2 separate regions of the Homo sapiens genome follow, and region 2 is linked to region 1. The links are contacts of gene promoters, found by promoter capture Hi-C in blood cells and fetal thymus (Javierre and others, 2016). All regions are on one chromosome and are shown on one strand. The core of a region is centred on a gene start or on the middle of the fragment in contact, and the rest is flanking DNA. Distances in the headings are between cores, read along the strand shown.

Region 1 (5,969 bases), core at 2,464-4,963:
CCTGACCCACATTGTCCAAAGCCAGAGGACTGACCTGAGCCAGACCCATGTTGTCCAAAGCCAGATGTCTTACCTGAGCTAGACCCATGCTGGTCATAGCCCAAGGATTGACTTGATGTAGACTCATGCTGGCCACAAGTTTGACCTGAGCCACATACATGTTGTTCGAACCCAGAGGACTGACTCAAGCCTGTTCCATGTTGTTCAAAGCTAGTAGACTGACTTGAACCAGACCCATATTGATCACATTTGGAAAATTCATTTGAACTAGAAGAGTTTGAAAAGCGGCCACAGGAACCATATTCATGTTGACCATTACTACAAGACTGGCTACCTCCAGACCCATATTGTCCACAGCAAGAGGACTGACTTGAGCCTGTTCTCCATTGTCCTCCACAGTTCTGTGGTTGACCATTTTCTCTAGCTCCATATCCTCTCTGACTATAGGACTGACTACAGGGGTTAGACTCAGGTTGACCACATCCAGAGGGCTGACCTCCTGAGACACAGCCATGGCCTTGTCCTCCCTTAATTCCTGACTGACAGCCTGACTGAATATAGCTAAATTGATTTCCTTGCCCTCCAAATCTATGTGACTGACAAGAACTTGAAGCATTTTGTGGCCTTCCACACCCACTTGAATTGCTATAACCACATGCATGACTTCGCCTCCCACTGTCTCCTGAACCTGAACAGCTAGACCCAAGCTTTTGTTCTCTAATTCTTGACTGAGTAGAGTTTGATTCATGCCCACTAGTCTCCAATCCACATGACAGACCACCATGACCTTTCCTTTCCCAACTGTTTGATCCAGATCCAGATTCATACTCCTCCCCAGATTCCCTAGAAGGGCTAATGTGTGACTTGTTTATTCTTTCTCTCAGTTCTACAGAGCTGGAACCATGTCTGTCTTTGCCACCACTCCATGAATGACCACAGCTGGACCTGTGGTATCTTTTCTGAGATCCCTCTTGGTTCCCAGAGCTGGATAAATTACCTTGTCTTCCTAGCCTCCTGGAGTTGGACCCATGTCTACATTTCACAGTTCCCCTTGAGTGCCCAGAACTATATCCATGCTCCTCTCCCTCACTCCAACTTGAATGTCTGTAACCTGATTTATGTCCTGGTGTATCCTCTTCATCCTCTTCTGTTTCACTTTCTTCTTCTTGGTGTCGGTGACCACGCCTATGCTTCTTTGACCCTGAAGCTTTGCAGTATTCTTTGCTGAGGACCTTGTTGCAGGCCATAGTCAGCTTGAATATCATCAAAAGAAACTCAGTAAAGTCCAATCTTCTGTCATGATCTCGATCCAGCATATGCATGATGACATCCACTGTGTCTGGATCATCTGGGTTCTGTATATGAGTGACACACCAAGGGAGACCTGGTCAGCCTAACCTGCATACTCAACTAACACATTTAAATAGCGCTGTGAAATTATGGATGTTTGACATGATGTAGTTTTAGTCCAATAAAGGATTACTTTAGGTTAATAGAACCCAGTAAATGTTAAGGGTTAATAGAAAATAAAGACTACTGGGATCCTCAGAAGAAGACATTTCAAGGATTTAGGCTAAAGGATTAAGTGCTTAGGTAAGGCCTACAGGAAGGAGTGGAATAAACTAAGTTCAGTAACTGGTATTTCTAAGTTTTACATAAATTGTAACTATTACATGTTAATATCTTCCATGTTGGAATTTATCATCTATTATTTTGAAGTTAATAACTGAGTCTTTTTTTTTTTTTTGAGATGGAGTCTTGCTCTGTAGCCCAGGCTGGAGTGCAGTGGTGCGATCTCTGCTCACTGCAAGCTCTGCCTCCCAGGTTCACGCCATTCTCCTGCCTCAGCCTCCCGAGTAGCTGGGACTACAGGGGCATGCAACCACGCCCGGCTAATTTTTTGTATTTTTAGTAGAGATGGGGTTTCACCGTATTAGCCAGGATGGTCTTGATCTCCTTACCTTGTGATTCACCCACTTCGGCCTCCCAAAGTGCTGGGATTACAGGCATGAGCCACCGCGCCTAGCTGAGTCCTTTTTAAGTAGATGGAATAAAATGCTGGCATTTTATTTTTGATTCTTAATCATGGCTATTTTGTCAACTCCCTATGTAGATGATTTCCCTTTCTATACTTTTTTTTCCATTTGATAGGATAATTTATTAATTCGTGTCCTAGTATAATTTTATTTTCTGCTTTTTCTAAGGAAAAGCCTGGGTGTATGAGAAAGTCTGAGAGTCTATGAGGTAGGAGTGCATAGGTGGAAAAGTGAGGACGAAACATTCACTTTCTTTAAAATATCTGCTGCTTTAACAGACTTTCTGGCATCCCCAAAATACCACTCATAGAGTTTGCTTAGAGTTCACTGGGGCTGTGCACTTTTTAGCTGATCTGGGTCATACAACAGAGCTTGTACAGGACTCCAGCAGCCTTCAGTTCTGGCACATGGCTCTCACCTTCAGAACTGGATGAAGCTCTTTCTCCAGAAGTTCCTTTAGTTCACCCTTGCTCAGTGTGCCACACTCCCCATCTTGCTTGGTGTATTTGTAGAAAACATCAATTACGGTGACAACACTTCTCAAGAGGTCGGTCATCTTTTTGCAAGTTTAAGTGAACCTGGACACAGAAAAACAAAGAACCCTATTATTCATATTCTCTCCTTTTATCAGCAATTTTCATTTTAATAATAACCAGCATGATTTTTTTAACCTCTTGTTTTTTAAATCTCAAAACGTAAGAATGGGCCAGGGATGATACAACCCCGTTTAACACAATGAAAATTAACTTTGTTAACTTTGAGTTACTTTTCTGTGATCAAGTCTTGGCATGTTACTGGTTCAACTGAGAATAGACCTCAAGTCTCTATATTTCCTGTCATGGGTAAGTATAGTCTCTACATAGTATCTCTACACTTTGAGTGTGTTGGCATTCTGGGTGTTGTTCTAAGGCTTCCAAAATTTCCAGAACCAGCCAGACACCATTGCCTCAATCTCTCTTTCTAGTTTCACTGCTTTTCTTGAGTCAAAAGTGACAGACCTTCCACCATGCACATCTGTTTATCCTCTGGGCACCAGAAGCTAAACTGGACCCTTAAGGCCTTCAGCAAATTAAAAATGGGCAAAGGGGCTCAAAATAGCTTGGTGTTTCATAGGCATGAGACAGTAGAACTCAGTAGAGCTTAGGAACTCTCTTAATGTCAAGCACTTGACCAAACACTGTTTTCTTTAATTAATCAAGAAGAAGAGCTCAGCAATGCAGGCAGCAGTTTAACTAGTGGATAATTAGATCTTGGAGCTCTGGGAACCAACACTGAATAAGGAAGGGACTCTGCAACAGACCCAGCTGCCTCCCAGTTTGAGCTGGACAGCCCAGAAAAGAGGGCATGGAAAAAGACTCGGAACAGACTGTGGAATGGCCTAGAGGAAGGTGAACTTTTACTTGCATTATTCTTCTCCATAAAAATGAACTTAACTACAAAAAGGCCCCAGAATAAACTAAACTAACCAAACAAATAAGCAAACAAAAAGAAAAGAAAATGAAAGAAAGAAACAAAAAAGAAAAGAAAGGCAAAATATACATGAACTCTGCCTTAGCTTATATCCCTAGACTTCTACTATGGACAACACCAAATATTCATAAATGTAGCTGGATGAATTTTCTCTCACCTGGTTCACCAAAGGAACAAGTAGGATAAAGCCTGATGCAGCTTGCAGGGTGACGATGGATTGGGATAATGACCCTTATATAGCTTATAGTGATTATAGTGAATGAGGTGATTCATTTTCCATCAAACCTAACTCCACCTCTACATATTTACCTTCCTCCTTCACATTGTTATCTACAGATGATTGCAGAAAGGCTAGTACCAGCCCCACCTTCCAGTACGAGGACATGGTTGCAAGATACCTTTTTTTTCAGGGTCATATACATGTGAAAAGCACAGACTTTGTTTTAGAGGACTCATGTTATACATTTCTTTTAACTAGTACCCACAGAAAGTAGCAGAGTGTAAGATACTTGGAAGGTGCACAATAAATGCTTATTTAATTGAAAATGAACCTGAGCCACTAGGTTCATCTAATTCATGTCTTTTTTGTAATAATAAAAAGTGACATTTATTGAGAATTTACTATGTGCTAAATACTTTAAACAAACCATCTCAATCTTTAAAAAATCTGCACTTTTAGTTATGGGTACATAGTTGTATATAATTGTTGGGTACATGTGATGTTTTGATATGGGCATACCATGTGTAATGATCAAATTACAGTAATTGGGGTATCCAGCACCTCAAGCATTTCTTTGTAGTAGGAACATTCTAATTCTACTATTTTAGTTATTTAAAAATATACAATAAATAGTTAACTATAGTTACCATATTATGTTACCAAATACTAGATCTTATCACCTCATTTAATCTTCACAACCTTCATACGAGATATGTATTTATTATCCCATTTTATAGAGACAGGTTCTGGAAGCATAAGGATCTTCTCCAAGGTCATAGCTAGTAGGCAGAGAAACCAGAAGTTGAACCTGTATCTACCTTATTGCAATTGCTGTTTACCATTATACTAACTTACCTCTGTGTATTTATCATATATAACTATCATGCAAAAATTATGCACCATTTTAGGAGTGTAAGGCCCACTCAAACGCAAATAATATAAAAAAGTAACATACAGAGTGCTGTTAGGAAGAGAGGAAACATTCTCTGACCTTGTGAAGGCTCATTTCTAGGCTAGAAAAGTGTAATTGGCTATATATAAAAATAATGTTTTCAGATATGTTCAGGGTGAATTTAGAGTGAGCTTTCTTCCAGCACTCTGCGATCCACTGGTAGTCTGGCATGTTTAGGGCCTGGACCCTTGGGAAAATGTTCACTTATGTACAGAAAGTATATCAAATACACTTGAGGGTAACAAAAATAATCAGAGAGCTGTAAGTCTTAAGCATGGAGAGCCAATTCTGCTGTACTTTGCTACCAGGTGATAATGATGATGATGAGGAGGATAGCAGCTACCATTAAGTGCTAAGTGCTTACTATCTTCTATACATGGTAGGTTTACATGCTTATCTATTTATTCCTCAAAATAACCCCATTTTATAGATAAGGTAATAAAAGCATAGAGCAATGTAAACATTTGTTACAAATCGCAGCTAGTTAGTAGCAGCACTAGAACAGATACACATGCTAGCCGATGCTAAAGCCTAGCACTTAACCATATATATTCTACATATATGGAGTCAATAAACTCCTATCTGGGCATTGCTTTGGGCCAGTCATCATATCTTATTCATTCCACCATCTAGGCAGCACCTAGAGCTTGGTAAACACTAAGAATGAGTGTCTGTTCATAAAATGTTAATGAATAGGCCCTTGAAATATGTCAATTGCTCACATAGCCAAGGAATCCTAGACCAAAACAACCACACAGAAAGTTATGGTTGCTGTTGGATACTATGGTCATTTTCAATCATATGCATCTTTTGGAAGTGCATTTTTGTTAAGATGGCTGCTGTGTCAGAAAGACTTTCAGGCCCCAGACTCCACACTGAGACAGAATTTTAAAGCATTTTTGCACTGTCACTCCAGCATTATAGTTGAGAACTCTGAAACTCCTCCATAGTTCAGAACTCCATTATTCAGTCTTTTGTATTCTTTGCATTTAGGTCTCTCTTCCTCTTCTACTTGCTTAGCATAATGGATAAAATTATAGTCAGAAAGACCTAAGTTCTAATCTCAATTTTGCCTCTTACTGCATTTCTTGTACAATTATCTAATCTTCTCAGCCTCAGTCTCCCAAATTATAGAATGGGAACAATAACACTTACCTAACAGGTGGCAATTACTTAACATATGAAATTGCTTAGTACCTGCCTGGCATATAATACATTCTTAGTACACTATATAATTACTGCAAACTTATTTTGATAAATATTTCATACAATCTATCACAGCATTTTACAC
Region 2 (5,969 bases), core at 2,131-4,630, 290 kb before region 1:
GTCATGCCTTGATGTTGGCATCTGGTCTCTCATTTGGTGTCTCCCAGCATCCTGGTATCTTAGGCTCAGGTTTCTCCCTTGGCCCCCCCATCATTGCTTGGTATTTGGGCTTGGCCTGTCACCTGGTGTCTTCCAATATTTTGTGGTTCAGGGCTCAAGTCTCTCACTTGGTGTCTTCTAATATGCTGTGATTCTTGGTTATGAGCTTTAACTCCATGACTCTCATCATCACTGGGTGTTGGGATTTGGTCTCTCACTTTATGTCTCCAAATATCCTGGGACTCTCGGCTCTGATCTGTCTGCTGACGTTTTTTCTTTGTCTGGTTGCCTGCCTTTGAGTCCTTTTGCTTGTCGTCCTTGCATTTCGGATCTTCTCTCCATTTCCTTTAATTCAGGACAGAGAAGAGCTTTTATGCATGCATGATAGGCTTTTGTCACTGTAAGCACCAGCAAAATGAATTCACTGAAATCAACTGTTTTGTGACCATCTTGATCCAGCTGTTGGAGGATTTTTCTATTGTCTCAGAATTAGTTGTTTTCTATGAGAAAAAAATCAAGAAAGTAGTTTATTAATCATTTGTTATTTTTTTCCTTCTCTTATGTTTTGTTACCAAGAAAATTCCTTAGGGGACATTTAAGAGGTCTGTTTTCTAGTTCTATTTATAGCTATTTCACTGCATATTATTTTCTATGGCAGTATTATGTATATTTTTATATTTTGAGATCACAGTAACTGAAATGTATATTCCTAGTATTAATAAAATATAGCATTATTTTATTACATATTTATTAACCACTAACACACCCTGTTTTCCCCCAACTCTCAATGATGACTCTGCTTTATAATGAAATCCAAGTCACCAAACTGGAACTCTCTCATTTATCCAAGCAAAGGAACAAACTTTCTTTAATGTGTACTCTTTCCTGAGACAGTAGAGGAAGTTTTTCTCTTTCTATCCAAAGCAAATCCATCTGTTTGTGCCCTCGAGTTCATGCCCTTTACTTTATAAAAGACTGAGTTACTTCTGATAATTTCTCTTTCTCTTGACTTTTTGATGCTTTAGTCTCTACTGGATCATTCCAGACAGAGAAACAGTATGCTTTATTAGCTATCATACTTTAAAAAATTTCCTGTGGTCTGGGCACAGTGGTTCATGCCTGTAATCCTAGCACTTTGGGAGGCTGTGGAGGCAGGTGGATCACCTGAGGTCAGGAGTTCAAGACCAGCCTGGCCAACATGGTGAAACCTCATATCTCCTAAAAATTAAAAAATTAGCCAGGCGTGGTGGCAGGTGCCTGTAATCCCAGCTACTCAGCAGGCTGATGCAGGAGAATCTCTTGAACCCGGGAGGCAGAAGTTGCAGTGAACGGAGATCATGCCACTACACTCCAGCCTGGGTGACAGAGCAAGACTCCATCTCAAAAAAAAAAAAAAAAAAAAAGTCCTGTGCACCACATTCTCACATCTCACATCTCTTTCTTTCTACCAGCCAATATCTCTTCTCACCATTTATTGCCAAGCTTCTTGAAAGAGTTATCTGTAAATGTCTCCGCTTCCTTACTCTTCATTCTCCCTTAATATGTGTCATTTTGGCATCCATATTCACCACCACACCAAGTGGTTTCCTTGGTACCAAATACAGTGGACACAATCTTTTCTTTACTGGACCTCAGTTGACACAACTGACTAATCCTTCCTTTCGAAACATTTTCTTATCTTGTATTTCATGACATCCCACTCTCCTGGTTTTCATTCTATATCTTTGGCCCCATGTTTTCATTTTCTATCCTCGTTTCACCTTTTCTACTTAGCCTCTAAATGTTGGAGTTACTCAGGATTTAGTATAGGACACTCTTCCTATCCTATGTTTTTACATTCTCATCTATTCCCGTAGCTTCATACCATCAATTAGCTGATGATAATCAGATTTTTGTCTTTGTGCAAGCCAGATCTCTCTTCTGAGTTCCAGACATGTATGTCTAACTGCTTTGGTGACATCTTTTCTGTGATATATCACAGGTAGAAGAAATTCAACATGTCCAACTCTTGATTTTCTTCTTATGTCTATTTCTCATCAAGTCCACTCCATCTCAGTAAATGGCACCACCGTCCTTCCAGTTTCTCAAGCCAGAAGCATGGTAGCTGTATTTGATTCTTTCCTCTCATTTACCCCTACAGTCCAGTCCATAATAAAGCCTTTTGTTTCTATCTCCAAAATGTACTGTCAATCCATCCACTTCTTTCCTTCTCCATTGTTTGGACTTCCTCAATCCAAGCTACCATCATCTTTTGCCAATACTGTTGCAGTAGCCCTTTTTTTTTTTTTTTTTTTGAGTCAGGGTCTTACTCTGTCACCCAGACTGGAGTGCAGTGGCATGATCATAGCTCACTATAGCCTCAAACTCCTGGGCTCAAGCGATCCTTCTGCCCCAACTTCCCAAGTAGCTGGAATTACAGGTGCAAGCCACCATGCCTGGCTCTGCAGTAGTGTGTAGTGTTCTAAGTGGTTTCTTTGCTTCTTCTTTTGCCCATCCAAACAGCAAGTGAATTTAAAAATTTGCCCATCCAAACACCAAGTGAATTTAAAAATTTGTGATTTAGATTTAATTATTCCTCTGCTCAGAACTCTTTAATGCCTTCCTATTACATATATAAATTACTTAACATGGTTGAAAAAGCTCCGCATGATTTAGTCCCTGCCTGGCTCTCCACTTTCATCTCCTGCCATTCTTTCTGCCCAGCCACACCGAACTTCCAGTTCCTTGAGCACAAAAGCTATTTCCTTACTCAAGGACTTTATTAGTACTCCTTTTTTTTTTTTTCCTGGAACACTTCCTATTCTTCATCTAGTCAACTCCTACACGTCCTTCAAGTCTTGACTTAAATGTAATTTCCTTAAAGAATCTCCTCTGACTTCCTAGCAGAACATAACTCTTATTATTGGTTTTGTTTGTTTTTTTTGTTTTTATTTTTTTCAGATGGAGTCTCGCTCTGTTGCCCAGGCTGCAATGCAGTGACGTGATCTTGCTCACTGCAACCTCCATCTCCCGGGTTCAAGTGATTCTCCTACGTTGGCCTCCAGAGTAACTGGGACTATAGGTACGTGTCACCACTCCTGGCTGGTTTTTTTTTTTTTTTTTTTTGAGATGGAGTCTCGCTCTGTCACCCAGGCTGGAGTGCAGTGGCATGATCTCGGCTCACTGCAAGCTCCGCCTCCTGGGTTCATGCCATTCTCCTGCCTCAGCCTCCCGAGTAGCTGGGACTACAGGCGTCCACCACCATGCCTCGCTAAGATTTTTGTATTTTTAGTAGAGATGGGGTTTCACCATGTTGGCCAGGCTGGTCTCCAAATCCTGACCTCAAGTGATCCACCCGCTTTGGCCTCCCAAAGTGCTAGGATTACAGGCATGAGCCACCATGCCTGGCCATATTGTTTTTAACTATATATTGTTATGTTTACTTGGTTTATTGTCTATAAGTTTTTTGAAGGCAGGAACCATGTCTATTTTGCTGGCTACTCTTCCCAGAGCCTACAAAGTTACCTGGAACATATGTGATGCTAAGTAAATATCAGTTGCATAAATGAATTAATAGATATATGACAGGAATGATCCCAGGCTAGAGAAACAAATAAAAGCACAAAAGGACATGGTCTCTGCCTTCATAGACAAGTAAACAGGTAATTATAACACACTGTAATAAGTGCCACAGGGGTGAAATGGGAGCCTATATGACAAATAGCTAAATAGGGTCACTTTGGCTGCATGTAGGTAATAGATGGTGGATAGTATTGATAGGGAGGGACAAGAATAGAGGGGAAGAGACCAATTAGGAGGTTATTGCAACAATTCAAGTCAGAGATACTGGTGGCCTAGAACACTTCAGGGGCAGTGGTTGAGGAGAGAAGTGGCCAGGTCTGAGAGATATTTATTTAGAAGTCAGAATCAGGAGGGCTTGGTGATGAGATTAGATGTGAGAAGTAAAATAGATGGAGGTGTCAAGGCTAGCACCCAAGTTATTGACTTGGACAAATGAATGGCTAGTGCTGCTGTATTTGTTTGAATATAGGATGTAAAAGGAAGATGAGGTTTGTACAGGTTGAATTTGAAATGCTTGTGCCATATCTGATGGAGATGCTCCATGGGTCTGAAGCTCAGGAAAGTGATCTGGTTGATAAGTTGACTGAAAGTTTCAGCATACAGAGAGTGGTTTCAGCATACAGTGGTTGAGGCAAGCAGAGTCTATGAAATCCCCAGGAGACATGCATAAAGTGAGAAGAGAATTCCAGAGCATATCAACCCTTAAGTGATGAGCAGAGGAAGAGGAACTTGAAATGACTCTGAGAGGAAACAGCTGGAGACATAAGAGGAAACCTAGGAGAGGGTAGTGTCACTGGAGCCAAGAAGACAGTTCCAAGTAACACAGTAAATGTGCAAGGAGTGAGCCCCTGTCCTTCTTACCTCCAAGGCCATTCCAAACTCTTGTCTGAGAAGTGTCTTGAGTTTTGTCTTGTTCAGCCTCTGCCAGTCTCCATCACTCTGCGTGCTTGTGGAAAATGTCGATGATACTGATGCTGCTCCTCAGAAGATAGGGAAGCATCTTGTTTTGCCAACTGGAGTGCACCTGGAATGCACCAAGGAATACCCAACTTGTTTAATTTTTCTGAATCTCTATCATCCCTTCTTTCTTCATCTCTTGGAGGTAAATTACAGTGTAAAGATCCGGCTTATTTGATTGTTTATCTGACTCCTTTAGAGATTTTTCTTTGAGGGCCAGGACCATGTCTTATCTATTTTTTATTTATCCTAGTGCCTCAAATATAGTAGAAGTTCAATAAATGCCTGATGAATGGGTGCAGAAACAAATGAGTGAACCCTGATTTGAGTGATATGTTGGAATAGGTCTGTGGTTCCCAAACTTTGCTGTACTATAGAGTCACCAGGAGGAGCTTTAAAGAAATAAAGACTCCAGGCCCCACCTCCAGAGAGAGTGGCTCAATAGCTCTGGGGTAGAGTCCTAGACTCTGCATTTAAAAAGCTCCCCACTGATTCCTTTGCAGCCGCAAGAACTACTGGCCACCTGACCTCTGAGATCCTTTGCAGCTAGAAAGTTTTGCAATGGCAATAATAATGAATTAACTGACTTAGCAAGCATTTCTTAATTTCCTTTGTGCCAATGCTGTGTTGTGTTCTGGGAATGGGAGATGAATAAGAAATAGCTCCTTTCCTCAAGGAATTCAAAGCTTGGAGGAGGAGATGCAGTTATCTCAGTACAGTCTGATAATTTACACGTAGCGGTGGCTGGGGACTAAGACAGGAGCTCTTCTTAGATGATGCCATTCTTGAAGATTATAGAGCAGTACTTTTAAAACATGGGCAAAGTCCACTAGGGTATTGCTCCTGTCATTCTAATTACAACTTGTCAGTGTTAGAACTTTCATAGAATTTTCCAGAAAGCCAAAGCTATATCTGCGCAGTCTAATTGTCTATGTAAGAATACTAAGGAAGGAAAACATTTACAAAAACAGAAATATAATTTTTTTAAAGAACTTACTTAAATTGCCAAGAGAAATGGAGGACTCAGGCCTGAGAGCTCATGGAATAATGGGCTTGGGGATCCTGGTGCTTATATAGGGGTTTTAATTACACCCTTTAACCTGACATCTTTTGCAGACAACACCCTTGGTGTATAATGGACTGAATCATTGCCAACCAAACCCCATTCCACCTGTTTCTCCTCTAAGCGGGGCTTTTAAACTCAGCATTTCCTTGAATGCCACCCCTATTTTGCATTTGTTCTGTGTCTGCAGCCTGGCTCCTGAGGGACAGCTACTTCTCACATCCCTGTGGGGCCATAGTGCCACCAGGATGTCTTGACAGTGTGCTGAAGTACTCTCAAGAAAAACCTTGTGAACCAATAGTGGCCTCATCTCCTGCAAGTAAAATGAGTTCTTAACCTGAGCCATTTT

Evidence for each region. Contacts are between HindIII fragments. The CHiCAGO score rates a contact against its expected background, and 5 or more counts as called.
Region 2: a fragment that was not itself captured here is called in contact with the fragment with the promoter of FLG2 in region 1 in 4 of 17 cell types (total CD4 T cells, naive CD8 T cells, neutrophils and 1 more); the score reaches 6.2 in total CD4 T cells.

The regions. Positions count from the first base shown.
Region 1 is chr1:152,356,293-152,362,261 of GRCh38, forward strand. FLG2 (filaggrin 2) reads right to left here and starts at 3,714. Exons shown (of 3, transcript NM_001014342.3): 1 at 3,664-3,714; 2 at 2,455-2,614; 3 at 1-1,355. The coding sequence starts at 2,592. The region is part of intron 7 of CCDST (cervical cancer associated DHX9 suppressive transcript); the gene reads left to right. The HindIII fragment of the contact is 5,522 bases long and covers 1,206-5,969 here.
Region 2 is chr1:152,063,125-152,069,093 of GRCh38, forward strand. No RefSeq gene overlaps it. Among named protein-coding and RNA genes, the nearest start is that of TCHHL1, 23 kb to the right of the region's middle. The HindIII fragment of the contact is 3,722 bases long and covers 1,520-5,241 here.